6 separate regions of the Homo sapiens genome follow, and all the other regions are linked to region 2. The links are contacts of gene promoters, found by promoter capture Hi-C in blood cells and fetal thymus (Javierre and others, 2016). All regions are on one chromosome and are shown on one strand. The core of a region is centred on a gene start or on the middle of the fragment in contact, and the rest is flanking DNA. Distances in the headings are between cores, read along the strand shown.

Region 1 (4,863 bases), core at 2,299-4,798, 680 kb before region 2:
GGAAAGGTATTTTTAAGAAGGTGGTAGTGGGAAGCAGAAGATGTAGAGGAAAAAGGGGTTTTGCAGATGGAATCAATAGAATTTGGTGACTAACTGGATGTAAAAAGTGGGATGTGAAGGTTGAGGGGGAGGAGAGCCATGTGGTTGCTATGCCTACAGAGGAAGCTGGTGGAGAGGATGGAACATAGGGAAAGAAAGAAGTTATTGAATTTTCACTCAGGGCATGTGGGGTTAGAGGTGCCTGAAGATGCCCAAGTGGGAACATTCGGAATGCAATTAAAAATATGAGCTCAGGGCAACAGATTTGGGAGGTCTTGCCGGTTTACAGAAAGTGGCTGACATATGCAAATGGCTCAGATGTTCCCATTGGGAGAACACAGGGTATGGGAAGAAGGATCTGAGACCCGATTTTCTGGAAATGGGAACACTAAAAGGGTTAGTAGAAAAGGGGGCCTGGAAGGGTACAGCCAGCCACTCCTGGGTTATGGTGGCAACTGATGGAGTGGAAAGGTGACAATTCATCTTGGACACAATTAGAGCAGGAGGTGCAGCCCTCTGGGAGGGCCGTGACCACCAAGCAACTGCCCTAGGAGCAGCCCCAGAGTTGGAGCTCCTCTCTGACAGGTGTTAGGCAATTGGAGTCAATGAGGGTAGCTCTGTCTGTCAGCCGCATTGCCAGATGGTTCTCAGCTGGACTCAGCGCATTTGGAGGAGTTGGGCAAAATCTCTACTTGGTGTTCTTTGCAGTAGGTAGGAAAAGGCAAGCAGCAACAGTGGGCCTGGAGGACCTTTCAATACGCACTTGCCCCTTTGTGTTCTTGGGGAGGCCTGCTGGAAGCCAGGGAGGCCTGTTGCTACAGCCATCTTAAAATCCAGAATCCAGTGTCTTCATTAACTAATGAAGTAGACACTCACACCTTGGTCACTTCCTGACTTGATTAGTAATGTTTAATGGGCACCATAATAGATCTTTTGCATAGATTAGAAGTCATGCAGAATAGAGCCTGACATGTGCCAACACACTTCGACTCCACACACCCAATATGGTTTGCCCATCCATTGTTGAATAACAATCATAGCTGGCACTCATTGAGTTCTTGCCAGGCACGGTAACAAGCTGTTTGCTGGAATTATCTCATTCGACCCTAATAACAACCCTATGATGTTACATAATTCTCACATTGGCTTCATAAGAAGATAAGTGAACTCTTCAAGTGACAGTTTGCTTCTTCTTCAGCATGCACAAGACTTCTCAGGCGTGGACAGATTAGCTGCTAAGAGGGAGGGGGATTGTCAGAATGCACCACACATGAGACAACAATAGCAGTGGGGCCCAGAGTTGGAAGTCTTGGTAAACATTTATTTGTGGAAAAGAAACTGAGTAAGTTCTAGCCATGTTGGCAAAACCAGCCCAGGAGACCACACTGACAGCAGTGCTCTCTGTGAGCACACAGAATCAGAGTCCAGACTTCCAGCAATGAGCACAAGTCAACATCGTTACAAAAATTTCAAGTTTAGAATAGCAGATAATAAGGAAATGACCCATTTCTAGGGTGGAGGGCAGGGTCCATTTCCTCATCATGTTGTCTTTTACTACCAGTGAACTCTGAGACCTGGTATATATGTCAGAAACCCAAGGCTCTTTCCTTCCAACTGTCTGGAATTTCTGAGTTGTAGGGCTTTTGACTCACTCCACATGAAGACAGAACATCCTGTATTAAAACTTTCATTGAGGGCCGGGCGCAGCGGCTCACGCCTGTAATCCCAGCACTTTGGGAGGCCGAGGCGGGCGGATCACGAGGTCAGGAAATTGAGACCATCCTGGCTAACACGGTGAAACCCCGTCTCTACTAAAAATACAAAAAATTAGCCGGGCGCGGTGGCGGGTGCCTGTAGTCCCAGCTACTCGGGAGGCTGAGGCAGGAGAATGACATGAACCCGGGAGGGGCAGCTTGCAGTGAGCAGAGATTGCGCCACTGCACTCCAGCCTTTGCAGAGCTCAAGAAGTTCAGAATCATTGCGACTTTCCAGAATTTTAGCACATGAGAAAACAAGATCTTCCAAGAACTATGAGGTTTTTGGGCTGTCATGGAGTCTACTTAGTGGTTAGACATGTGGGCTCTTGGAGTCAGGAAAAGTTGAATTTGAATCCCAACTCCACCACTAAAAGAGTTGTGAGGCTTGCATTCCCTGCTTACTGTTTGGTCTCAGTTTCCTTACCTGTTCAATGCAGATAATAATGGTACGTATCCTACTAGGGTTGTTGAAAGAATTAAATGAAAAATTCGAGTAAAAAATTTAGTACTGGCCTGTCGTGTAGAGGTATGCTGGGGTTGGCTGTACCAGCTTGTGAGAGCCAATGGTGCACATCTCTTCCTAACTCTGCCTTCGGTGCTGGTAGCTTGAAACCAGCCCAGTCAGGAGCATTTATACTCCAGCAATTGGCAAGTGCTGCAAATCAGAGCAACTAGTATGAATTGTAGCAACTATCGTTACAATCCCCCATTCCATCTGAATATGTATTAACTTATATTTGGATGTAATGGTTTGAGAATGAATTCCATGTTCTGTGGGAAGTATTCTCTCCCCAAGATTTCCAGGAGCTTCCATTCTTCTGATCATCTCATGCACAGAATTCCTGCCTATGACTTGGTGTCTTTATTACTGGAATGCTTGCTTCCTGTCCTCTATATACCCTCTTGGTGGATGCTGAACGTTTTACTTCATTTTCTCCCAAATGAACAAAAAGCTCTGATGTAAGGCAGATTTTCACTAAAGTTTTTTTTTTTTTTTTTGAGTGGGGAGGAAGGGAGGGGACACACGTGTTTTAGAACTGCAAAAAGTGCAAATAACTTAAACTAACAATGCTGCTGCTGATAGCAACCACTGCCATTGCCACCACCGTCACCACTCACACAGGTCACTAAGTATGTGCCAGGCCTGCTCCTAAATGCTCTGCGTGTATTGATGTATTTAGTCGCTGTCTTCAGGAGGCCCTTGCCATTACTGCCATCAGACATTTCTGTGTCTTTCCTCCTCAGTCTTCAGCCATACTGCTAAAAAGTCTACTGCTAAAAGCTTCTATTTCTCTTTTTTCTTCTCTTCTCTCCATTCTTGAACGTCTCAGCCCTTCTTTCCGTGCTGTCTACTCTCACCCCAAGTTCCCCTCACATCACTTTGTAGAACAATTTGATTCTTGTCTTGCCTTCACCCACCTAGGTTGTGCTTAAGCCTTCCTCTTTCTTTCTCATGATGAAAAAGAGGTTTTTCTTGACAAACGTCCAATAGCCTAGACATGACTTATGCTGTTCCCTCAAGAAGAAGGACAGGTCGCACCAGTTTGTGTTACATGCTTATTATAAGCCCTCCAAAATGTGATCAAAGTAAAATGTAAAATTATACACCACCTCTGCATTTCTACTTCCTTGAAGTAAACACTGTGAAATATAGTCTAAAAATGGTTAAAATGCTCCTACTTAATAATTTTGTGGCTTTGGGCAAGCTACTTAGTCTGTGATTCAGTCTTGTCATCTATAAAACAGGGTTAATATTACCTACGTCATAAGGTTGGTGAGGGTAAAATGAGATAATGTTCAGTGCCTGGAAAAGTACTAGGGATAAAGGAAGAGCTCAATAAATGGTAGTTATAATTATCCTTCCAAATGTTTTTTAAGCATGTAGTGTCCCTACAGATATGTAACATTTTAGTTAATGAAAATATCGGATCTGTAAAAATAGGATCAAAAATGCATATTTTTTCCTGAAATGTACTTTTTCCTCCCCCTCAACAAAATACTGCTATTCCAAGGCAGTCTACCCTCACTCCTTTAAATTGGTCCAAATGTTCTAAAGAAGGCACCATTGATTATTTAAACGCTTCCCTGATTCGGGGAATTTGGGTGTTCTTTGTGGTCTTACCAATACTCCGAACACATCCTTGTCAGTGGACTCTTGTGCACTTATTTCTGCAGGGTAGACTCCCAGAAATGCAAGAGTTGGGTTGAAGGGCACATATATTTAAGCTTTGGATAGTAGTGTTAAATAGCCCACCACAAATTCCATCTCATTTACACTCCCACTACAGGGCAGAAGTGCCCTGCCCCACACTCTGTCAGTATTTGAATATTATGAAACTTTAAACTTTTTGTCAATCTTTTTCATGGGTGAAAAATAGTATCTCATTTAAATGTACATTTCCCTGATCCATGGTAAGTTTGAATATTCTAAAATGTCTATTATTCGTTTTTATTTTGTCTTCTATAAATTAGCCATTTATATCATTTGCTTGTTTTCTACTGTACTTAAAAGTCAAATACTCCCTTCTCTCTCCCTGACATTTAGGGAACAGCTTTTCCAGGACATACCTGAATCCTCATATTGCCTCATTCCAAGTTCAGAAATGTGAGCTCACCTAAATGAGAGGGAAGTAGAAGTGATGATGCTTGTCAGGTTATATAGCCATCTCGGGGAATATGGCTTTTTAAAGCTTCCCATGGCCATTGCAAGTAGATCTTAGGGCACATTTGGAAAGTTAGAGAATGAACAGAGCTAGCTGCATTTCTGTGAATTTTGGGATTGGGGAGAGAAGAGAAAAGAAGGGAGGTGGGCGGGGAGAGCAGGTAACAGGGCAGGTAGATGGAGCCTTTGGGGAGGGAGGGGTGGTCAGTGAGAAATTCCAGATGGCTGGTGGCTGGCAGATGGGCAGGAACAGGATGTACAGTAGTCATTTAAGTTTGCACATCCCCAGGCCGGGCGTGGTGGCTCATGCCTATAAACCTAGCACTTTGGGAGGCCGAGGTGGGCAGAGTGCCTGAGCTCAGAAGTTCGAGACTGGCCTGGGCAACATGATGAAATCCCATCTCT
Region 2 (5,041 bases), core at 2,324-4,823:
AATATCTGTGGAAACCCTGGTGAAGCAAAAGAGTTCTTGTGAATCCATAACTTGGTTTTGCTTTAAACAGTGAGATGGTGATGCTGGTTATTACAACATCTCCAATTTCCAATATAGAAAACAGAACAGGATACGGGTATAGGCCAGGGAGATGATTTCTCCATAGTTGCAGTAACCTCAGTAATTTTAAGGATTGTTTTTTAGCCATAATGGAGACTTGAAAAGGGTCTAAATAGTTTTTAATCTTCCCTGTTTTCTTAATACAGAAAGAAGACACTATCAAAGACAAAACTCAACATAATAAAACCATCTTGCCCCATACATTGAGAGTGATGTGGCTGGATCATTGTTTATCCCACTGACTGACAGTTCTGGCTGATTCATCCTCTGTGGTACCTGTGTGCTTGTCTCCTTTTATCTTTTTTTATTTATCACTTTGTCCTATGACACTGAAAAAGGAATTTCCCAAATGGTTTTTAAATAGAGAAGTGCATTTTGCACTGTGGTTTACGGGCTATTGTAGGAAGAACCACATCCTTCAGCTATATTCTTTGTATTTCTAAAACTGCGAGTTTATCTGTACATTTCTGAAAAGTTTTTATTACAACTTGAAATTTTCTTAAAAAAACTGGCTGGGCATGATGGCTCACAGCTGTAATGCCAGCACTTTGGGAGGCTGAGGTGAGAGGACTGCATGAAGCCAGGAGTTGAAGTTCAATCTGGGCAACATAGTGAGACCCTGTCTCTACAAAAAAAAAAGTCCCCTCACTGATTAGTATTATAAGTTTGAAATATATGTTATTTAAAACTCTGCCTTTAGAACATGATGAAAATGATACTTAGTACGAAGCAAAAGATATAACTATACATAAAGAGAAATGATAAATTAATATCACTACATAAATCAACACATTAAGTTAATGCAAAATATTTAGGTTATTTATACTATTAATAAATGCTTAAAAGCCAAAGAAAAATGAGCAATGATAATTAATAATAGTCTGAATTGAGTGTCGTCTACACGTGTTTCATATAGAGAATCTCATTTACTTCTTGTAAGAATTTCTTGTTAGTATGCTCTCCAAATAGTTGTGGAAAGCAAAGATTGGAGAAAGCAGGTAACCTTAAGACAATACAGGTATTACATAACAAAGCCAAGTTTTCAACCACAGAAGGAATCAGCTCCTATAATAGCCAGAGCTGCTAGTCATGATTCCCATGCTTTCCTCTTAGAGACATCTTTTTTTAATGTCTATTAGAGCTGGTAAGCTTAAACACCATATGTGAAAATAGCATTTTAAAGCAAACTCCTAAAGGACACAAAGATATAAACGCCTAAGAACTTGGCATTTCTATGTTCTGTTGACATTTGAAATCTTTTCTTTTATCTCTATATTTGGTTTTGGTGAAAATTTGAGACCATTTTTTTGTACCTAGTGAACATTGTTGTTTTATTCTGTCTTGTTTTGTTTTTAAAAAAGCTCCTTCCAACTACATTTTTTAAATTCCCCAATTTTAAACTTTACTGATATCAGTCTTTTCCCCCTTCTTCTTTCTGCTTTTTCTTCTTCTTCCCTTCCTTCTCTTTCTTTTCTTTCTTCCTTTTCCTTTAAATCATGGCAAAACGATCTTTTCATTCCTGGTTTCACATCCTAGAGATCTGATCTCGAAGACAATGCCAGAATTTTTTCAAAAAGAAGTGGCAATTCCTTCTCTCTTCCCATCTGCATTCTCTGTAATCGCTTATTTTTAAAAAAATTCATGAGAAAGAAGAAATTTTCTCTTCATTTTAGAGCACCAAAATCTTCTTTTCCTAGCAGGAAACAGGGGTTCTTCCTTCTCCTGCCCACCTATCTCTGTCTCATCTGGAGATTAGTCATGTAAACATTTGCTTGGCAACTGACTTCTTCAGGAAGTTAATTTACAAACCTCCATAGAGAATTTATTACTTTACCAAAGAGCAAACTTTTTTAAGAGAAACCAAAATGATTTCACAAACATTTTCAAAAGTAAACAAAAATGAATGAAGCAGAGGAAGAGCACACTTGAAAGGATCTAACTTCCAATAAAGAATTATGAAATATTGTATCTTAAATAAATGGCTTCATCTTGCTCCATATGTTTGAGTGCCAGGGCATTGTGCAAATCCAGAAGGTAGATTTGCATATAAAAAGTATATTTGTAGTTCATAAAAGCATCTTTGGACAAAAATTTTGAGATTCAAGATAAAAACCTAATCTGCAAAAAACAAAATGTGGACTGGCAAAACACTAATTTACTTTGAGTAAGTATAATACAATTCAAAATGAGGCAGGAGAAAAAGGCTTTAAAAGATATGAAAGTAGGCCAGGCGCGGTGGTTCACGCCTGTAGTCCAAGCACTTTGGGAGGCTGAAGTGGGTGGATCACAAGGTCAGGAGATAGAGACCATCCTGGCCAACATGGTGAAACCCCGTCTCTACTAAAAATACAAAAAAAATTAGCCAGGCGTGGTGGCGGACGCCTGTAGTCCCAGCTACTTGGGAGGCTGAAGCAGGAGAATGGCTTGAACCTGGGAAGCAGAGCTTGCAGTGAGCTGAGATCGCACCACTGCACTCCAGTCTGGGTGACAGACCGAGACTCCGTCTCAAAAAAAAAAAAAAGATATGAAGTAAATTGTTCTTTGTTTCTTTACAGCCCAAACTCACTGAATATAGTAATGAACAGTCCTAACTGCCACTAAGCTTGCTGACAAAGTGATGCTCAATAAACATCCACTGATGATGCTAAAAATAAGATGTTCGGAAAGAAAGTAATATCTTAGAGATGCCCACAATTTTGAACCAAATATATCCTTCTGCATAATAGAACTTCATATCTGAAGCAGAAAATAATATTGAGCAGATTAACACACTCTGTCCCCAGATGATTTTGTTTCCTCACATACATAGCTAAAGCTGTAAAGTGCCCTCTAGAAATGTTTATTTGAATCTATAAATGACTCTTTTATTACTTAGCTACTCAAAGTAATTATGATATGATAATAAGTGATATTTTAAGTTCTTTTTGAAAACAATAATGCATTCTGATAATATTATACAGAATTAAAAATCCGAAGTACAGAAGTACAGAAACTCTTCGGACATGACTGTCTGTACTTGTTAAAGATCAGTTAGATAGTAGCAGTGAACCATTTGAAGTTCACTGCTAAGTCAAATTTGACTTTGAAGTTTAAAGTCAAATCATCATTATCAAATATGGAATGTGAATACAATGGATTTGATTTTTTTAAATGCACCTATAAGGCACAACAATAATCTAGTCACTTAGAAAGTAACGAAGCATACTGAAATTTCTTCTGTGAAGGTAGATGATACAAAACCCAGAAGCCTTTTGCCTTTGAACGATTCTACCATTCCCAAGTAAAATAAACCCCCATCACTTGGGTTTGGCCATTCCAGTGACAACTACATGTTAGCTTATCCTGCTTGCTTACTCATTTACATTGTATTATGAGGTCAAGAAACGGCTCACTGTGGAGGTCACATTCAAGTTGACACCTGCATAAGAAGAAGTGTCAGCAATAAGGCCACATTGGGAGTAGAGAGTGGTGGAGAGAAAGAGAGAAGGTCAGAGAGGTCAGTAAAGTCCAGACCATGCACAGCTTCAGGTCAGGTGAAGAATGGGAAGCTATTGGCAGATTTTAAGCAGGGGAATGTCATGATCTAATGTTTTCAAAAGACCACTCTAGCAGGAGTGTGGTGGAGTGAGAGTGGGTGTGGGAAGAGCAGTTATATGACCATTTAAGCGATCTTAGCAGACATGATGGCAGCTCTGCAATGAAGACCAGGAGATGAACACGGGATACATTTTGGAGTTGTAGCTGATCGGGCATACTGATGGATTAGAGGGGGGTAGCAGTAAGCAAGGTAAGACTCAAGGCTGCCTTGATGTTATTTGCTGAATGGAGGAAAGGCTGTGGGACGAATATTGGGGATAAGAGAGGAGTAGGGGTGAAGCAAGAGTCCAGTTTTGGGTTATATTAACCTTGGGATGTCTGTGATATATCCAAGTAGACACATCAAGGAGGCAATTGGATCTAAAAACTTTCAGCTTGATGGAGAGGCCAGTGCTGGATTTATAAATTGAGTAGCCGTTGGGTTATTGCTAATGTTTAAAGCTGTAAGACTGGGTCCAGGTTGAGAGTGTGGCTGAAGTGCACCTAGGACCCAGCCTTTGGGCACCTCACCACTGAGAGTTTGGAAAGAGAAAGCAGCCTGCAAAGAAGACTGAAGTGCTCCAGTGTGGAGAAAAACCACAGAATATGGCATCCCGAAAGTCACAAGCACAAAATGTTCAAGAAGATGAGAGCGTTCAACTTGGTCAAATGCTGTGAAGACATCTAGGAAGCTGGGAACAGAAACATAACTATTAGATGTGATAAAAATAGGGGTCATGGGTGACCCTAAAGAGGCATTTCAGTAAGTATGGGGGCTGGAAACCTATTTAGAGTCAACTGAGGCAAAAATGAAATGTGAAAATATTAAGACAGCACTTTTCTTGCTGTCTTGGGTAGATCAAAATGGGGTAGAACCTGGAAGGGGATAAGATGTCAAGAAAAAAGTTTGAGTAGAAATGAATACCAGTGAGATCGATCCAATGAAAAAGGAGAAATTGATGGTGTAGGAGAAAAGCAAATTTAACTGCAGGAGGTTAAGTCTTGGGAGCAGGTAAGGGGATGAGATGCAGAGCACAAGCAGAGGGACCATGCTTAGATGACAGTAGGAACTCTCCACCCATCGCATTGGGAGGAAAGTCACAGCATGTGAGTTTAGGTTGGCATATTTTGGGGTACATGATGAGAGGTTATTTTGAAACTAGACAGAGCATATGTGTACTATGGGATATCAAAGCCAGTGTACATCAATTGTATTAATGAGTATACACAAATATATCGATCACCATCTTAAAGACACGAATAAGGCAGTAGAGAGAGGGATTTGAGGATATATCTTAGACATTGTTTTTGCCTGATTTGATTCTTCCATTTCTACCCATTACAT
Region 3 (5,122 bases), core at 2,060-4,559, 590 kb before region 2:
TGTTTTCTTTTGAAGTAGTAGTTTTCACGGTGTGGCCTGGGGACCTACGGGTTCCTAAGACCTTTTGGAGGGCTCGGTGAGACAAAAACTACTTTCATTATATTACTAACACATTATTTGCCTTTTTACTCTCATTCTCTTGCAGTTATATAGTGGAGTTTTCCAGAGGCTACATGACATGTGATATCAAAAGAGATTTGATACACCAACAGTTTTATGTTAAGCCAGGCATTAAAGAGATTTGCAAAATGCAAAACAATAGTACTCTTCCCACTAGTTTTTGTTTGGGAAAATATAGTGATATTTCATAAAAATGTGCAAATTTACATATGATGAAGTTATTATTTTTAAATGAATTAATAATTTTCCAGCTTTAATTTCAAATGTGATCAATAGATAAATATCACCCATATAAACAACTGTTCTCTCTGGTCGTCAGCAAATTTTAAGACTGTAAAGGAGTTCGAAAAGTTGGAGAACACTGTTCCGGAAGAAAGCTACTCACATCTTAGTCAATATGCTTTCCTCTAAATACTGGTATGAATCTGAAACTTCTATCTGAATGAAATTTGCTTAGAAGCAAGAAAGGTCGAGCATTTTGAGGCAAGAGGTACTTTTATGGGCAAGACTAGCTTGATGCAGAGGGATAAACAGTGACGTGGGAACCACAGGCTCAGGTGGAATGACCCAGGTAGAAGGAACAGAGAGGGAGTCAAGAGTGCAATGGCAAATGCTCGTTTCTAAATTTAGCCTGAGACCAATGCTACATCTAGGAAGGGGTCATTTTTCTCTACCTTCTCTTACCTCTTATGCTCTGGGAGACTACAACACAGTTTCCACATTGAAATGCAATCCTTCATTAGTTTCCCACTGGTCTTTAAGGACGAATATTATAACTGTGGTCTACAACATTCTGTATTATCTGCTCCTGCCTACATTTCCATCTTTTTCCATTCTCCACCTGGCTCTCTATACGCTAGCCACAGGGCCCTTGGTCTATTCCTTGACCGGGCTATATTCACTTTCAACCTGCAGACATCAGCTTCCTTCAGTTATCAAGGAAGTCTTTCTGCCATTATAGATTCCCCCTAAATATGCACTCTTATGGCACTATAGATCTGCTTTATGGCATGCATCACAGTTGTAATTTTACATTTATTTGTGTGATTATTTCATTAATGCCTGCGTCTCCTTCACTAGGCTATAAGCTTTATGAGGAAAGGGACCATGCTTATTTTTACTCTATCTTGTATTTCCCATACCTAGTGAAATGCTTGGGACATAATAGGGGCCCATTTAATATTTTTGAATGAATAAATACATGAATAATAGGTATTATTTATTAAGCATTCCTCCTAGATACTGTTCTTGCACTTTGCAAGTGTGACATAATTTTGAAAAGAAGCCAATAGATAAGCACAATTATCATCCCCATTTACAGATGAAGAAACCAATGCACACAGAGGTTAGCTAATTTGCCCAAGGTCAAGCTGTAATTTTTGAGGTCAGGATTTGGACTCCAACAGTTTGATTTTAGCACCCACAACTCTATACTGTAGTTCAGTTGTCTTATGGATGAAAAAGCATTTATGGGCCCAATCTCCATTTATAAGGTTGGAATTCAAAATTATTCCTCATAGAAATCAATGACTGATTTATAAACTAGGAAGCTAAGGTACAAACTGATGACCAACTCTATTGGGGAACTGTGTGGAATAAGTTCTGAAATTAACTAGTATTAAGAAAACAACAACAACAAAAAACAACAAACAGCAGTTTCATGTGAGAGCTTTGGTAGCTTTTTATGTTTCATTGGTTATAACAGAAAAATACATATATGTGCAATATGTGTAATGTATTTTCTGAAGGTATGAGGGCAGCCCAAGAAACAATGACAAAAACAATGTCCTCTTCTGGATATCTAGAACTAGATAGTACATGTTAGGATTCAGAAAACCTTTGATCTTCTGAGAAATTCTATTTTTGAAAAAGAAAGTGAATCAAAATAAAGCTATGAGCCTTAAGTTTCAGAATTACATAGATACATGTCTCCCTTTTCAACTCGGTTTAATTTCAATTATAACTTTTCAGCTATATTTATTTTTCAACTAATTTTATTTCTATTAAGTTGGTCATTTGAAATTACAAAACAGTTTCATGAGTATTTAAATGTGTAACATAATTGTAATCTATTTTTTCTATTATCACAGCATGCTTAAGAATATATCACAATATGAAAAACAAAGATCCAGGAAACCTATAAATTCGAACAATTTATCATCTAAAACCTAGCAAGCCATATCATTATTTTTATGTTTCAAGTCAATTTTATATTATTAGGATCTTTGTGATTTCATTCAACAAATAATTTTTGGATACCTACTCTATGATAGGCATACCCAAGAGGAGGGGGGAAACAAAGATAAAGGTGGCCTGGTCTCTATCCTAAAAGATCTTACGGTCTAGTTGCAGCAAACTAAAAAGGTAAAGGCCAGATAATGGGGTTAAGGAAAGGCTGCTTACCTCACCCAACTGAGCGAGGGGTTTCAAAAGATGTAACATCTAAACTAAGACCCAAATGATCAGTAAGAATGGCCCAGAGAAGGGTAGAGGTGGAAGGCACCTAAAAATGGTTTAGGGAATGGTGGGGGTCAGAACAGCATGTGTGAAAGGCCTGTAGACAAGGAAGTGTGTTCGTGGTGCTTAGAGGAAAAGAAAGGCAGGGCATAGTGAATGGGACATAATAAACACCATTCCCATGGCACCAATCTCTCACAGAAGCTTCATGAAAAGATAACCAGTTATATCTACCAGCCTTCTCATCTTCCAGGAAATCAAAGACACAGAAAGGGCAATGAGATTATGAAATACCTCAAAAAGTGCTCTTTGGAAATTTAACTTTCCTCAGTGCTAAAACTTTGTTTTTTAAAAATTTTACTAGTAACCAAAATGTCAGCAAAACCGAATGTTACCAGTGCTGCTAAGTTGAGACATGGCTGGAGTGGAGGACAGGATTGTAAAGTTAGAATCTTAAGACTGTCCAAATCTTCTATGGCTGGCAAATGCTTTGTTCTCTGAAGAATATGTATTACTATAGTGAACTTATTCCTTCTGAAATTTTTCTTACTTAGCAAGGAGTTATTTCTATGCAAAAATGGAAAATTCAAAGACTAAAAACCCTCACTGTATAGTAATCTATATTGTTTGTGTACTGGTGCTGTCTGCTTAGCCCCAAGTCATCAATTATGTATAGAAATGTACAGCTACAGCAGTAGCCAGTGTCATGGGCCTGTCAGGGATTTCTTAAGAGGAACAAAAACACTTGATTCTATCTACTTTTAGAAAACACAGGATAGGTGAAAAGAGGAAGAAAATGAAAGAAAATATGAGTAATCCTCAATACATACATTGGCTTCTTATAATAAATGAAAAATAAATTTTAAAAAAGCACTTGAAACCAGAAATATAACTAAGAGAAAGCATTGGATATAGACACAAGAAAGGCTGACATCAGCACATCAAAACCACACACTTTAGAATACAAATTCATTTCTTATATATTCCAGGAAAAATAACTAATGGGGGTCACCAAGCTCTAACCTCTCTGAACCAAATTCAATGGATCCAGTGTTTACAACAAGGAGTAGTCACGTTATTTGAAATAAAATGTTCTGTAATTACCAAACCTCGTTGGCTTCTGAGGTGAGAGTTTTCATTCTAAATGAATGAAGTATGTTTACAAACTGACCTGGGAGCACAAGGACTATAAAGATTAACATGAAGAAAATGCAATCTAAGATATCTTATGGAATTTTCCCTATTATACCAAACACAGCAAAAGCTTTCACTGGGATTTCAATAAATTTAGTTTTACACATTGCTACAGAAATTTAGTTATTCTCCCTTTCTCTAGTGGATAGCTGGGGTAGCAGCTGGTGTGCTGTGTATTTAAAACGTGTAAAAGAACTCCTGTTCTCTCTCAGTACCTACATAAATGTGCTTGAGGAAATTTGAAAAAATGATTTGCTTTAAGTAAAATGACTTTATTACCTTTCCTGTAGGGTATTTGACAAGCTTTTAAACATCTAAGAGTCATGTTTTCAGAAAGCATACAGATTTCTTCTGGAGAAAACTACAGTACATAAAAACGTATCATTTAAATTTATGTAAATTTTCCTGAACCACACATTCTTGAATGTATATCTTCATTGTTCAACACTTTCTGGGTAGAATTTTTAATGCCTGATTTTTATAAAATAATTTACTTGACATGTAAATATTGTGAGATAGCCAAAGATATAATAATTTTCTATTACTTTAAAGAGTGTGTAACAGTCGCACTTTGTCATTACTATACAGGTTAGATCCCGTGCCATATTAGTCAACCAAATTCTATAAAATTGAAAGCATATTTAAAAATCAATGCTGAGACATTAGGAAATGCCTGAAACAGATGAGAACCAAATCAATTCCCTTATTTCTTAGATTTAAAATGGGCATAATTTGCTGATCATTCACTGAGAGTGTAATTTAGCAAAACAGACCCCAATGAATGCTGAAATATGTTTTCTCAGCTCTTATTTTTCAAATGATTTTTGCTGGTTTTAGTGTAAACAATTCCAGCATATTTAAACACATTACAATTAGACCCACAACCTACCAAATTAACTACTTGTTACTACTATAGTCCATTAAACAGACACTTCTCAAAAGAAGACATACAAGCAGCCAAAAAATACATGAAAAAAAATGCTCAACATCAACAATTATCAAAGAAATGCAAATCAAAACCACAATGAGACACCATCTCACACCAGTCAGAATGGCTATTATTAAAGTAAAAAACAACAGTTGATGGTAAAGCTGCAGGGAAAAGGGAACACTGGTACACTGTTGGTGGGAATGTAAATTATTTCAGCCACTGTGGGAAGCAGTTTGGAGACTTCTCAGAGAACTTAAAGCAGAACTACCATTCAACTCAGCCAATCCCATTACTGGGCATACATCCAAAAGAAAATAAATTGTTCTACTAAGAAGACACATGCACAAGCATGTTCACTGCACCACTATTCACAATAGTAAAGACATGGAATCAATCTAGGTGTTCATCAACAGTGGATTA
Region 4 (4,865 bases), core at 1,093-3,592, 610 kb before region 2:
TACAGCTAAACTGGAACAACAATTCCAAATATGGTGCAAAATAATTCAAATTTCATTTTTGTTCTAATGACCTTTCTTAAAGGGTTGTAGATAGCTTTTAATAAAATATATTAAAGACAACATCAAAATACTCACAAAAAGCAGCAGGAGCAGGGGTGTTATAACGATGCCCTGAAAGAAATAAAAGAGAGGATGATCATTTATCAGCCTGGAAAGCAGGACACTTTCTTTGCCATTTTAAACTCTGAGGCATAGGAGTGCTTATCTTCTCACTGCTGTTTAATAAAATCTAGGAGATAAAGAGGGGAGAGTCCCAATCTTAGCTTTCTCTTCCATAATAACATCTCTATTACAATTATTTGTATTTGGCAGCCTGAAAGCACAACCACCAATCTGCCTTAGGTTCATCTTTCCTTTTGTAAACCTAAATTCCCTTCCACATTGCACGTGGATCATACAGATAGAAGCTGGTGGCTGGCAAGCTTCCTCACTCCAAGGCTTTCAACTCTAACTTGGATAAAATGCCCCTTTTTGAGAGAAGACAGGTGGTTTAGTCCCAGTTGGGGTCCTCTCCTGAGCAAAGACCACGTCAGTTGTGATGAATGAGATGTCATGATTTTGTAATGTGAACTGGTCTCCCCTAGGAAATGAGCTGGGATCTCAAAACTCATTTCACTTGATTAGACTTCATGTCTCCATGGTGGAAGGCAAGTCTTTCATCTAATTCAGCCACATAGGACCACCTCGGTCCCTCTGCCTCCCCTAGGCAGAAATGAGCAAAAGATTTGTTTTCTTCGATGACAGGGAACAGTTTGAGGCTGTTGCCAATGAGGCAGAATACCAGCTTTTAGGTTTCTTGAAGGCAAATCTTTAAAACTAAGTGTTTGAGTTGGGAGTTGTAATGACAGGCTTCAGTTTTGGAGCAGCAGATGATTATTTGCCCGTTTTAGTTTTTCCTTTGTCTCTCAACATTTCATTATGATTTATACCAGAAAAAACATTTCAGATTTTTATTAATGAATTCTACTTGGAATTTTAAAATTTCAGAGAATCTGAGGTTGTGCGTGCCTAAGACAGAAAAGAGAGGGACAGACACACACACACACACACACACACACACACACACACACACACACACACACAGAAAAAGAGAGAGAGAGAGAGAGAGAGACAGATAGACAGAGGTACTATATATCCAGACAGTGTCCAAGATCCAGATCTGGGACTACTTCATTACTTTTGGAAGAAAAAAAGTCCTTTTGGTATTTACATGAAAGTCCCTGTGTCATAACAGTCACTCAAGTGTTTTGCATGTGGCCCAAGAGGGACTGGCTTACCTTAAATGAACAATGCTACCATGACTTTCTGGGGCATATACACATGTGAATATCCACAGACAGACTTGTTTTGTTATTAAATAATAGAATGAACATTTTTTATTGTGCACACTTTTGCAATTGGCCAAAGAGAATACAATATTTTAATCTAAGAATCACTTTAAATCCTACTTATTAAAACAGGTATTGTGGCCTATCAACTCCATTGGTATCTATGAAACAGGTTCTCATTAACACATTTAGGAGAGCCAAATGTGCTAAATGACAAATAACTGATAACTTCGAAGGGCTACTGTCCTTCAATGACTTGTACTAAGTTCAGACTTTAGGAGGAATTCCAAATTTTACAGGGCCACATAAAAATGAAAATATCTAGCTGACTCAGTCTATATGAGAGGCATTCAATTTCAAGCAGATTTGTTTAAACATATAATTAAACATCCACTTATATACTGGGTACTGGGCTCATCCAAGAGATTCAAGAGTAAGTACAACATGGTCCCTATGCTTAAACAGCTTATAATCCAGTAGAGGACACTGATCTATAAACAAGGTTCAATATAGAATGATATAACTGCTGCGACCGGCGCTGCCACAACTACCTGTGCGCATTGTCCAGGGGCCTGAGGATTGATAGCCCCCACCCCTGTGCCACTGCATCTAGCGCCCATGTGCACCATTGGGGGGCCTGAGAATAGGCCCACTCTGCCTGCACTGGCACATGTGCACATCATCTGAGGGTCTGGAGATCAATATATGCCACTCACTGGCATCTGCAGGCACCGTCTGCAGACCAGAGGTCAGGCCAGCCCCACCTGCCACAAGTGCACTGGCACCTCTGCACATCATATGGGGGCCTAGGGAATGACCCACCCTGCTCCCTGCCACTGGCGCCTGTGCACACCATTGGGAGGCCTCAAGAGAAGCCCACCCTGCCTGTTGCCTCCACTACCAGCACCAACATACACCCTCTAGGGCACTAAGACTAGGCCTGGCTTACCTGCTACTGCCACCTGCACAGGTCGTCTGAGAACCTGGGGATTAACCCATCCCTCCCACCAGCACCCATGTGCACCATGTGGGGGCCTGAGGACGGGCCTCCCTGTGTGCTACTAATGTTCATGTTGTCTGGGGGCCTCGGGATTTACCCACACTTCCTTATCACCACTGGTGCTTGTGTGGACTATTGGGAGGCCTGAGGAGAGACCTCTCTCACCTGCCACTCCAGCCACCAGTGCCTATGGACAACATTCCAGGGCCTGGGAATTAATCTGCCCCACCTACTGCTGCTGACACCTGTTTGCATCATCGGTGGACCTTAGGAGAAGCTGTTCCTCTTCTACCACTGCTGCTGCCAGCACCCATGCACAGTGTTGGGACTCACTCTGCCCACTACTGCCAGAACCTATGCAAACCATCCCAGGCCTGAGGATAGGTCCACTCTGCACTCCACCACCACCTCTGGGGTCCATGGACTGGACTGTCTGGAGTCCCTATCCCCCAAAATGCCTCACCATAGCCTCCACTAACAACCACAACAGACACCACTGAGCTGATTACAGCTGAAGAAATACAGAGACTACAATACTGTGCCCATCCAGAATCAAAGCCAAGGCAACCTACCAAACCAACACTATAGATATATCTATAGGAAAAATTCTTTCCCTACTAAAGCCAATCTATAAAATTGGAAGAAGCAACTGTTATGCTAGATGTGCAGTAAGGACAAAAAATATGAAAAAGCAAGAAAACATGACACCTTCAAAGGAACATAATAATTCTCTGGTAACAGATCCAAAGGAGAAGGAAATTTATGAAATGCCTGAAAAAGAATTCAACATAATGATACTAAAGAAAATCAGTGAGATAGAAAAGTGTTGTTATCCACAGGTTTTTCTCCCTGAATACTTCTAATGGATAGTCAATGACACATGATAGTTTCTTTGCAGCTCTTCCAAGGACTTATAACATTTGTTCCCAAAATAGTAAAAGTTTCCTAGCAAATAGGAAGGATTTGCTAATTCTGGATTTAATATTCCTTCTTATTTTCTCAAGAATAGCTGTTCAGGTTCATTAAGAGTGAATCACTGTATAATGCTGAAACCTACTTTTCAGTTGTATTAGGAAGTGAGTCAGCCAGGAGGCATTCACTTTGAGAAGAGCACCATAATTTTTAGTAAAGTCATCATGATTATTATTAAAATAATAAAAACTAACATTTATGTAGTACTTATGTTGGATATTGTACCCAGGATTTAGCTATGTTATTTTATGTAATCCTCACACTCTCTGACATAGGTACTATTATTATATTATCCCATCTACTAGGTAAGAATGCTGAGCCTCAGAGAGACTGAGTGAAGTAGGAAGAAGCAATGCCAGGAATTGAACCTCCCCTTGACTCCAGAGCCTGTGCTCTTGAATGGTGTAAATAAAATCTTTGCATTGTTAAGTTATTTCCTCAGGGTTGTATTTTAAGAGTAAATCTGAGAGGAGTTTCAGGCTCAGTATGTCTTTTTGATAACATAAAACAAATTAAGAAGTAAGCCTTCATGTCATATGGCAGATACATTTTTTTAGAGTCAAGTTTTTGCAAATATCAGTGGTAAAAAGGGTGAGCTAAACATTTAAACTGCATCAGCAACAATCACTGAAAGCTAGAAAATTAAATAAACATGTTATTTTCTTTTGAGTATATGCAGCTCAATTTAATTATTTCTCTTTTCTCTTTCCTAAGTAAATTCTCCTGAAAATGGATAAAACCAAAGTGGTAGGAGATAAGCACTTCTAGCAAAAGATGTTACCTCCTCCTTGCAGATTCAAGGTAAGACATAGATTTAGCATCCTTGCAATTGGGATGGTGTATAAAGCTTTCTGATTGCAACACCTGAAGAAGTCAAGTCACAAACTGACTGGCTTTCGTTGTCTCCTGAAAAAACTTTCAGAAAATCCATTTACACCTCAGATGTGAATGACTAGGTGAATGTATTTCAATGACTTTAGTGGAAAGAAAGAGTGTTAAATCTTAGATAGATTTAGCTGCATCAAAATACAAACAAAAAGCCCCAAATAACAGCAAGACAACAAAACTGTGAATGTGCTTCTCTCAGCAATAGGACATGCAAAAAAAAGGCAAAACTAAAGTGAAATTATGAAATTTTTGAAATAGAAAATGTTATCAAGAGGTTTTGCTGCAACAACTACAAAGATCACACAGATATTAAAATTGACTTTTTAGATTTGTCTCCAGGATACTGCATTAACTCAGTTTTCACAGAATAAAGAATATCAGTTTTGAAAGGGATCTTAGAGATACCCTGGTCTAGTCCTCATCTAAAGTGCGAACCCCTCTCTCTGTCTCCCTCACGTCCTTATATAACGCTGAAACCTACTTTTCAGTTGCATTAGGAAATGAGTCAGCCATGATGCATTCATTCTGACAAGAGCACCATAATTAAGTTTTGGGGAAGTCATCGCAATTATTATTAAAATAATAAAAGCTAACATTTATGCAGTACTTATGCTGCA
Region 5 (5,147 bases), core at 1,599-4,098, 620 kb before region 2:
TACAGTCCCATTGCCCAGCAGAGTGACCACTTTCTACATCTAGGGCAGTGGTTCTCAAATGTTAGCACATCAGAAACATCGGGAGGGCTTGTTAAAACACAGACTGATTTTGCCATCCTCACAGTGTCTGATTCAAAAAGCCTGGGGAGAGGGATGGGAGTTGTGGTGAGAATTGGTATTTTTAACAAGATGCCCAGTGATGCTGCTGCTGCTGACTTGGGGGTTCACACTTTGAGAACCACTAATCTAGTACATAGGGTGTGCTCAATGAATGTGTGTCAATTAGTGAATGACTGTAATACAAAGGCAGAAAAAGCTTGCGAATGCTTTCAACACATTCTTCCAACTTCATTCAGGTAAGCTGCAAAGCTCTACTTAGTTCACAGACCCAAGTAAGGATCATCAGCCAGGTCTCCCAATCAGTTGTCTTCTATAATCTCAATAGTAACATTTATCGTGCACTTTCATGTGACAGACACTGCTTTGTTTCATTTTTTAATAATTTCAACTTTTACTTTAGATTCAGGGGGTACACGTGCAAGTTTGTTACATGGGTATATTGAGTGATGCTGAAGTTTGGGATATGGATTATCCCATCACCAAGATAGTGAGCATAGTACCCAACAGTTAGGTTTTCAACCCTTGTCCCCTTCCTCCCTCCCCACTCTATTAGTCCCCAGTGTCTCTTGTTGCCATCTTTATGTCCCTGAGTACCCAATATCCAAGCTCCCACTTGTAAGCGAGAACATGTAGTATTTTGTTTTCAGTTCCTGTGTTAATTTGTTAGGATAATGGCTTCTGGCTGTTTCCATGTTGCTGCAAAGGACATGATTTTGTTCTTTTTTTGTGTCTGTGTAGTATTCCATGGGTGTATATGTACCACATTTTCTTTATCTAATCCACTGTTGATGGTCACTTAGGTTGATTCCATGTCTTTGCTATTTTGAATAGTGCAGTGATGAACATGTGAGTGTATGTATCTTTTTGATAGAATGATTTATTTTCTTTTGGATATATATGCAGTAATGGGATTGCTGGGTTGAATGGTAGTTCTAAGTTCTTTGAGAAATCTCCAGAACTGCTTTCCACAGACACTGAAGTAATTTACATTCCCACTAATTGTGCATAAATAAGTGTTCTCTTTTCTCTGTAGCCTCTCCAGTATCTGTTGTTTTTTCACTTTCTAATAGTAGCCATTCTGACTGGTGTAAGATGGTGTCTCATTGTGGTTTTGATTTGCATTTCTCTGATGATTACTGATGTTGAGCTTTTTTTCCTATATTTGTTGGCCACTTGTATGTCTTCTTTTGAGAAGCAGACACTGCTTTGAATGCTTACTGCATGTGGAATAATTTAATTCTCACAGCAACCCCTTGATGTTGGTTTTATTATTACCCTCATTTTCACAAGAGGCAACAGTGGCACAGAACAGTTAAACAACCTGGACAAGGTCACCATAGCTAGAAATTGACAGAGACAGAATCTAAACCCACAAGTGTAGCTCCAAAGCCCTCACACTTAACTCTTTACACTCTACTACACATTAGTTATAGGTGGTACAGTGTGAAACAGGGGAAGGGGGCACTAGTGAAAATCAAAGCTGGGCTCCTCTTTTTGTGCCTATGTGAAAGACAGGGGGAGGATGGGGGGAGGGGGATGAGGGGAAGGGGAAGGGGCAAACCACAGAACACAGCAAATGATTGGAGTGACTGGTTTCTCGACTCTCCCAAGGATGGTACATAACTAGTGCCAGGGTAGATGCATTAGGGAGAAGTTAGTTCAATACACACAATGAATGCCTTAGGACATCAGGGCTTAATTCTCTAACTGGGCAGAGAGAGACTGAGTGGAAGCAAGATTGACTGTTATCAACCCATTCAATCTAGAAACTATTTCATCTGAAAGAATCTGGGGGTCCACTTGGTAAAATAATATGGGGCAAACTAACCAGGCTTAGAAAGACAAATAGGTAGCAGTTCTTGATGAAGAGATGTTGACTGTCTGTAGAATCACAGTTATCAACCTACAGTTAGAAAACAGATGGTGCATTTTAAATCACTCCTGTAAGTGAGCTGACCTGTAAATTGTCATTAATGCACCAGTTCTTCACTTGCTCTGCTGTGTAATCGGCCTTTTATCTCCTATCAGGGAAATCCATTAGCCACAGGCATCTCCACTATTTGTGTCTCTTCCCAGCTATTAAAACATTATTGTATTAAATAATTCACCCTTGATGATTGGTCTTCACTTTCATTAGCACCACATTCAGGGAAAAATAAGAATAGATATTTACAGTTGATACTGTAGAATTATGAATGTTAACTCTCTTTTGCTAGGAAATCAGAAAGTAGCAGCTTCAGACATAGAGCAGGATTTGTTGTCTTCCTGCTCTATTTCCACCTCTCCACATCACCCGCAGAGCCCAGCCCTGGGGAAAGGGAAAGGGAAGAAGGCTTGCTTACTATTGTGCCCACACACAGACACACTCCTAATACCCATATCTCCTTCCTGTCACAAAGATAAACATTTAAACAGAAGAAGGAAGAGTCTCCCCAGGCCCCAATCCCCTCCCTATACACGATATAGTTCAGCTTTTCTTTCATTCCTACTGCTCCTTCTCTCACAGGGGTACATGCAAACTAAACTTACATAAAATTGTCAAGTAAATGTATACCAGGTGACAGACTCAAATGTTAAAAAGACTATGATTTTTATCAAAATTAGGAATATGGTTATTAAACAGCCATACTGATTCAGTTGCATGCATCAAGCTAAAATTGGGTTATTGTGTGGAAAGTATATGTTTAGGAGAGGAAAGTATCTTTTTAATATTTATATGCACAGTCTTTTTCCCTCTCTGAGAAATAAAGAACAAAAGAGGCTTAGTAGATTTTATCAATATAAAAACATTATATAAAACATGGCTTCACTTTTCTTTTTGTTTATATGCTAGCTACTGTTCTTTTCTTAGTTTTATTGAGGTATAATTGACAAAGATTGTATCTATTCAAAGTGTACAACATGATGTTTTGATATACATATATATTACAAAATGATTACTATGATAAAGCTATTTAACATACCCATCACCTCACATAGTTACCTTTTTGTGTATGATCTTAATACTTAAGATCTAATCACTTAGCAAATTTTAAATATGCAATACTTTATTATTAACTATAGTAGCGATGCTGTAAATTAGGTGTCCAGAACTTACTGGCTTATAACTGCAAGTCTGCATCCTTTGGTCAACATCTCCCCATTTCTCCAACTCCCTGGCTCCTGGTAACCTCCCTTCTACTCTGTTTCTATGAGTTTGACTCTTTTAGATTCCACATATAAGTGAGATTATGCAGTAATTTTCTTTCTGTGTCTGGTTTATTTCACCTAGCATAATGTCCTCCAGTTCATCCATGTTATACGCTAATTTAAAATGTAAGATGAAAAGGTTACTTTCTAATAACTTTGATGGAAACTTAAAGTGTGCAATCACAGGTTCAGGTTACTCAAACCCACACAGTCTGTTTAGTGAAATGTGCCAAAATGAACCGTAAATTGGCTTGTTCTAACCTAGAGGAAAGAGGAAAGCTATGAAGAATTGAGCTTCCAGGCCATGAAGGGCTGGAGGCAGAGATACTCAGAGGCCTCTAGGACCAAACTTTGCTCCCTAATTTTTGACCAAAGGATTTGGTCTTGTCAATCCTGAGTGTGGTTTGGGAACCAAAGGACCTGCTATTGCTAAATATTCTCTTAAGTAGAACACATGATTAAGTTCCTTCAGCTTGGTTACCAATAGGCAAGGGAGTAGCAAGGAACCAGTGTCTTTCCAACTCTGGATTGACCCTACCCGCTTAAGGAGCACCCCCAGTAGCTGGTGCTGAAGAAGGAACCAAAGGGCAAGGGAAAAGCCTGGCTAGGACAAGACTGCCCCAACTCATCCCATGTCTCCAGCTCACTTCAGTGAAGCCTGAGAAGTCCCACACCAGCAGTGCAACTGGCCTTCTTGGGACAGTAGTCCTTAATGGGGGAAGAAGTTTATCAATGTCACCTCTTTCACCTCTAGAGCATTTGAAAACTGCTTACTAGGTGCTTCCCTTCCCTTAGTCAGAAGCTACTCTTAGCTTCAAGGGGAGATTTGTCTTCATTTGCTTTAGAACAAGGTAGAGAAACTGACTCAATGTGAAGCAACTGAGACAATCAGATGGCTAGTTTTTTTTCAAGTGGTTTTAGGTTTATCATTTTATGCATCTCACACGTGTGTCCATTAATTATGCAACCATAAATGGAAACAAATTATAAAAAATAATTATTGTACATGACACTAATGGCTGTATACATTGTTTCTGTTCATAGTGATGGGATCAAAAGTTGAAGAATTTTCTATCATAGACAGCAAATTACTACGGAAACTAATGATGACTGTAGCCTTGAAAGCTGCCCCTTGGTCTCTTTCGCTGACCTAGACCTCTCTCTTCTATGAACTCCTATTAAGCTCAGTTCGAATCACAGTTTAGCAGTCAATTTCTTCTCTAAATTTCTTCCATATTCTTGATTCTTGTTTGCCCAAATACGTTTTAAGTTTCTTCAAGGCAATTATTATGCCTGCTTCTTTTTCCTCTTACCTATATTACTTAGGATATAATGTTCAAGAAAAAGTAATTGTGTGCTGATAATATGTTTTAAAACAAACTGTGTCTCCCAAGAGGCATGCTTAGGAAGCATAACCTGGAAGGGGCATTCAAGGGGAGGCAGACCCAGGCTGAAAGCGTCTTGTGTTCTCTACCAGTTGTGCAGTCTCAGTCGAGTGACAAAATCTCTCTGAACCTAGCTTTTCTCATATAAAGTGAAGATAATACCTCCAAAGCTAGTCATGCCTGTTACGTGGGATTATGCATCAAGTAACCATAGTAGCTACTCAATAAAAATTATCCTACCCCAGAAAAACAAGGTTTCTTATACAAAGATGTGAGAATTCAAACCTATTGAATTTAAGAACTACTGAAATGGAAACTAATTGGAGAGACAGTCAGATCAAGGGAACATATAGTTAGCCTAGAAACAGAGCCTGGTATGTATATATTCTGTGTACATATGTGTTTGTGTATACACATGCATATGTGTATATCAGTCCAATGATCACAGTGCCT
Region 6 (4,538 bases), core at 359-2,858, 710 kb before region 2:
AGATCAAAGAGTAATGATTTTTGGAGGGCATTTCTTTTATTGTGTTTATAAACATATATCATAAACTTTACCATTATAGCTGTACAGAGCTCAGTGGCATTAAGCGCATTCACATTGTTGTACAACCATCATCACTATCCATTTCCAGAACTTTTCCATCATCCCAGATGGACACTCTGTACTGGCCATCCTTCCCTATGCCCAGACCCAGATAACTTTAAATCTTCTTTCCATCTCTGTTAGTTTGACTGCTCTAGGTACCTCACATAAGTGGAATAATGCAATATTTGTCATCTTGGGTCTGGCTTTATTTTACTTACTATGTTTTCAGGGCTAACTGATAAGGTAGCATGTATCAGAGGGGTAACTGCATTTTAAATGTGGAAGATGTTGTCAGGTTACACCACAAAAAGTTGGATGGTTTATAGTTCCAGCACTAGTGAATGAATGCCCTAGTTTTTCCATAGTCTTATCAAGACTGCTTACAACCACACATTTTAACATTTGCTAATATGAAAGGTATAAAATAATATCTCATGTATAATTGCTTTAAAAATTATTACTGAGCAGCCAGATGCGGTGGCTCACGCCTGTAATACCAGCACTTTGGGAGGCCGAGGAGGGCGGATCACAAGGTCAAGAGATCGAGACCACCCTGGCCAACATGATGAAACCCTGTCTCTACTGAAAATACAAAAATTAGCTGGGCGTGGTGGTGCGTGCCTGTACTCCCAGCTACTCGAGAGGCTGAGGCAGGAGAATCGCCTGAACCCAGGAGGCAGAGGTTGCAGTGAGCTGAGATCGTGCCACTGCACTGCAGCCTGGTGACGGAGCGAGACTCTGTCTCAAAAAAAAAAAATTATTACTAAGCTTTTTTTATTTCTGTTTGTATCCTTTCATTATTTTGAGGCAGTCATCTTTTTATGAATTCACCATGACAATGAATATTTGTCTGTTTTATGTCTTACAAATACTTTTTTTTGGAAAATAATTTTTTTTAATCATCTGTCCAGGGTTCACCTAAACTCATATTTTAAAAAAGTATAGCACACTTTACTCATCTTTTCCTTTATGGCAGCTGGGTTTTGCTCAGAGAGGTATTTCTAAATCCAATATTTATAAAAAGAAAAAAAGTTTCTAGTTATTTTTTATTTCATTTTCGCATAACTTTGATCCAAATGGAATTTATTTTGGTGTGAAATAGGACTTCAACTTTACCCCCCTCTAATGAATTGTTCACTTTCTGGGGGCTGATCTTAAGCTTTTAGTTTTGAAAAAAGCTGCATAAAATCACCACACGGAACTAAGTCACACGTGTTCATGTTGAACGGGTGTTTTTGTTGCAGTGACAGTGAGAAGCAGTCGTGATTTCATGGGATTTCTCCTTCAGGCTCGAAGAGTGTCCGATCATCAAATCGCTGGCACTTTCGTTCTCATTCCTCCTCATTCCAAACTGATGACTTGTTTTCAAGAGGCTGATGCAGTCACCCACTCTGACAAGTCCCTGAAGAGAAACCTGTCATTCGTGTGGAAGGCCCCAGCCCAGCCTGTGGGGGACATTAAGTTCCTGTAAGAGAGTGAAGTGCTGTTTCTTAGAAACTGAGCCTTCTACTTTGGAGAGAGGGGAGCTTCTCTTTGCCCTGACTTCATATTCCCTTTCCCCCTCCTTATGTGGCCACCTTATAGCAAGGACAGGGTCATGGATGCTGCCTAAACTGGAGAGCCTATGCAGAGGGAAACTAAAAAAAATATTGCCCCCAAACTCATCCCTTCATCACTGTCCATGGGCCTAGAGTGTGTTATCTCCCTGCCTCCCCAGGCACAGGTAAATCTTGGCCAACCTCTCTAGGAGTTTCTGACCAGAGGACAGAATGGCTGGCGGTGGGGAAGGCAGGAGAGAGCCAAGAAAGAGAGAAACAGGCAGATGGACAAATGGACACGTCCCTGGGCCCAGGAAAAGCTTCTTGAGGCTCTGTGCCTTGGCTTGTTTTCTATAAATGGGCATAACCACAGCACCTCCCTCAGGGTTGTATATGGATGAGAGAGCCTACGTTCGCTCAGAAGAGTTCCTGGCAACAGTAAGCACTTTAAAAGCATCATTAGTACTCAAAATGAGGTACTTGTTTTGTCATTCTTTTCAGACACTTGCATTTACCAAGAAAGATAATTTTTCTCTTTCGGGAAAGGGTGTGTGTTTCTGTTTCTCTTCCCCACACCCTCCTAAATATGAAGGAGACTGCGCCTGCAGGCAGAGGTAGTCCAGCTCACATGCTCCCCTCCAGGACTCCCCTCTGCTCTGGGGAGCAGTGGGAGAGGAGGTTGGTGGCCCTAGCTTGTGGTGTCCCTTCTCCCCCACCTCCTGGTGGCACAGGGCAGCAGACAGGACAGCAAGAAGGGAAACACGTGCCTTAGGATTTTTCCTCTTTGGAAGGCCCAGGGCCCGCTTACCTGTGGGTGTGCCCAGCTTCTGCCCTTGGCTTTGGTTCTTACGCAGCGCAGAGGGTGTCTGCTTCTTGAAGTCCTTAAACCTGTACAGTCACCTTTCTTTCTCAAAGCACCTCAATTCCTATTTTTGGATGTACCATCATAGTTGCTGCGTGCCACATAGCAAGTAGTGTAGAAGCTATGATCTCCATTTGACAGAAAAAACGAGGTAAGTCACTTGATGAGACACCTGTCCCAAGTCACCCTGTGATCTCCCACCTCCGGGAACGCTTGCGCACGATAATGTCCGCCGAGTCTGGAAACCGCATGTTGGGGGCCTGAACTATGACGCTCACTGCGTCTCGAGCCTCTGGGTGACTTCGGCCAAATTAATCACCTTGTTATGTCTGCCTCCTGAATACTTAAAGTGGGAAAAATGGCACTTGCCAATAATCCCTCCTTTACTGAAATATTTGGAAGAACAAATGGCATAATGTTTGTGAATGTGATTTTTACTGAAGAATTGCTTTTCAAAAAATTATTTAGAATATTAAGGATTTATCTCTAATTTCCAATAGAATCTACAATAAGGGTAGACATGTACAATTATACAACAGAATTATAAGATCTTCAAATCATGACATAATAACTATATCAGGAATGGCTAATAGTAACATTGATGATAAAACCTTTTATTGGAGTCTAAACAGTTTGAGGAGATACTTTTTAGTTAAAATGAGATTTTTAGTGACTGTATTTATTCAAGAGGACTATTGATTTGTTCATATCATCTCCTATTCTAATTATTTGCAACTATGGGGTTTTTGTTTTTAAAAAGAATGAAGTCACTCAAAGAGTAATAATATAATCTCTCTCTCTCATTCTGCTATTTATTTAGTTTTGTTCCTCTTTATCTGTTAGTGTGTTCTCTCTTTTCTGTGAGGCTGGCCTGAGTTATTATTTAAAGGAAACTAAATCCGTGAACTGCTCTGCTCTTTCTCTTTCCCCAGTTTATCAGTAGTCCAGTCATATTTTGTTTACTGGGCAAGGATTGAATCATCTGTTGTGTCTCAACAGACACATAGCAGCGCCCATTCTGACGACCGCATGGAGCCCAGATTGCTGATGCCAAACCTTCACCAGAGGCTGGGCGATGTTGAAGGAGCTGCTCCAGGTACAGCTTGTCATTGTATTTGCCAGGCTGGTTGTCATCATTATTTTTACAGTTATCTATTTTCACTTAAAAGTTACTACTGCCAGTTTCCTGTTCCTGCAAAACAAGCAATAAACACCTGCCGTGGCCAACTGCAGCAGTTCTTGGGGATGTGATAACGCAGCAGTGAGAGGGAGGGAACGCTTGCAGTTGCTTTGTTTGTTGCAGCAAACACACTTTGTCTGGCTCAACCTAACACATTAAGTCAGGCCCCAGGGTGGACAGTGAGAGCTGTGCTGCAATACCAAAAAACAGCATACACCTCTTCCCCCAACATTTACTAGTCCTCACAATATTTCTGCTGTTTTCCTTAGTCCCCTGAAGCTACGCAGGGAGCACAAAAAAGAAATGAGCTTTTCTTCGTCTTTTCTCATAAAAACGCATCCAGTTTTTATTGTTACTTTTCATAGTAGGTAGGTGGCTCTTTGCAACCTGGGTTGGAGAACAGAATCAGGAATCACTGTTTCAATGGGAAGGGATTTTTCCTTGCTCACTACATGGCTTTATATTCCATTAGTCCATGAACTCCTGAAAAAAGAAAAGAAAAGCAACAAAACAAAGGAAAACCACTAGCCAGCTAGAGGCTGTTTGACCTATCTGAAAATCCCTGGTGGTATGGAACTCCTTTTTGTTGTTTATTTCTAGTTAAGTGCTATGAACACAAGCACTCGTAAAAGCATCCAGACACATGCACACAAGACCCTACCCTTAATCCATTCATTCTCCTCTTCGCTTATTCTTTCCTTTACTCTTTGCTAATATGTTAAGGCCAGAATCCAATCAGAATCCCTGCCTCTTCTCAGTCTAGCAGACCCAGGTACAGAGACAGTGGGGACCACCCTCCATTCTCTGCCTTTGCCCCACAACCTTTGTCTTCTTCTATTACCCAGCACAACTCCTC

The links. Contacts are between HindIII fragments. The CHiCAGO score rates a contact against its expected background, and 5 or more counts as called.
Region 1: a fragment that was not itself captured here is called in contact with the fragment with the promoter of TTC29-AS1 in region 2 in 8 of 17 cell types (megakaryocytes, total CD4 T cells, activated CD4 T cells and 5 more); the score reaches 7.4 in megakaryocytes.
Region 3: a contact is called between a fragment that was not itself captured here and the fragment with the promoter of TTC29-AS1 in region 2, in 10 of 17 cell types (total CD8 T cells, M1 macrophages, total CD4 T cells and 7 more). The highest score is 9.3, in total CD8 T cells.
Region 4: a contact is called between a fragment that was not itself captured here and the fragment with the promoter of TTC29-AS1 in region 2, in 6 of 17 cell types (activated CD4 T cells, megakaryocytes, total CD4 T cells and 3 more). The highest score is 7.6, in activated CD4 T cells.
Region 5: a contact is called between a fragment that was not itself captured here and the fragment with the promoter of TTC29-AS1 in region 2, in 1 of 17 cell types (total CD4 T cells). The highest score is 5.8, in total CD4 T cells.
Region 6: a contact is called between a fragment that was not itself captured here and the fragment with the promoter of TTC29-AS1 in region 2, in 2 of 17 cell types (erythroblasts and megakaryocytes). The highest score is 6.2, in erythroblasts.

The regions. Positions count from the first base shown.
Region 1 is chr4:146,247,415-146,252,277 of GRCh38, forward strand. No RefSeq gene overlaps it. Among named protein-coding and RNA genes, the nearest start is that of REELD1, 35 kb to the left of the region's middle. The HindIII fragment of the contact is 944 bases long and covers 3,077-4,020 here.
Region 2 is chr4:146,930,431-146,935,471 of GRCh38, forward strand. TTC29-AS1 (TTC29 antisense RNA 1) reads left to right here and starts at 3,574. Exons shown (of 7, transcript NR_188447.1): 1 at 3,574-3,907. The region is part of intron 4 of TTC29 (tetratricopeptide repeat domain 29); the gene reads right to left. The HindIII fragment of the contact is 4,123 bases long and covers 2,721-5,041 here.
Region 3 is chr4:146,344,511-146,349,632 of GRCh38, forward strand. The region is part of intron 5 of SLC10A7 (solute carrier family 10 member 7); the gene reads right to left. Among named protein-coding and RNA genes, the nearest start is that of MIR7849, 62 kb to the right of the region's middle. The HindIII fragment of the contact is 1,060 bases long and covers 2,780-3,839 here.
Region 4 is chr4:146,325,826-146,330,690 of GRCh38, forward strand. SLC10A7 (solute carrier family 10 member 7) reads right to left here. Exons shown (of 12, transcript NM_001029998.6): 6 at 136-171. Among named protein-coding and RNA genes, the nearest start is that of MIR7849, 80 kb to the right of the region's middle. RefSeq lists an enhancer at 3,066-4,265. The HindIII fragment of the contact is 3,725 bases long and covers 481-4,205 here.
Region 5 is chr4:146,309,318-146,314,464 of GRCh38, forward strand. The region is part of intron 6 of SLC10A7 (solute carrier family 10 member 7); the gene reads right to left. Among named protein-coding and RNA genes, the nearest start is that of MIR7849, 97 kb to the right of the region's middle. The HindIII fragment of the contact is 5,069 bases long and covers 315-5,147 here.
Region 6 is chr4:146,221,011-146,225,548 of GRCh38, forward strand. REELD1 (reeler domain containing 1) reads left to right here. Exons shown (of 8, transcript NM_001354631.1): 4 at 1,347-1,569; 5 at 3,435-3,598. Among named protein-coding and RNA genes, the nearest start is that of REELD1, 8.7 kb to the left of the region's middle. RefSeq lists an enhancer at 1,074-2,273. The HindIII fragment of the contact is 699 bases long and covers 1,260-1,958 here.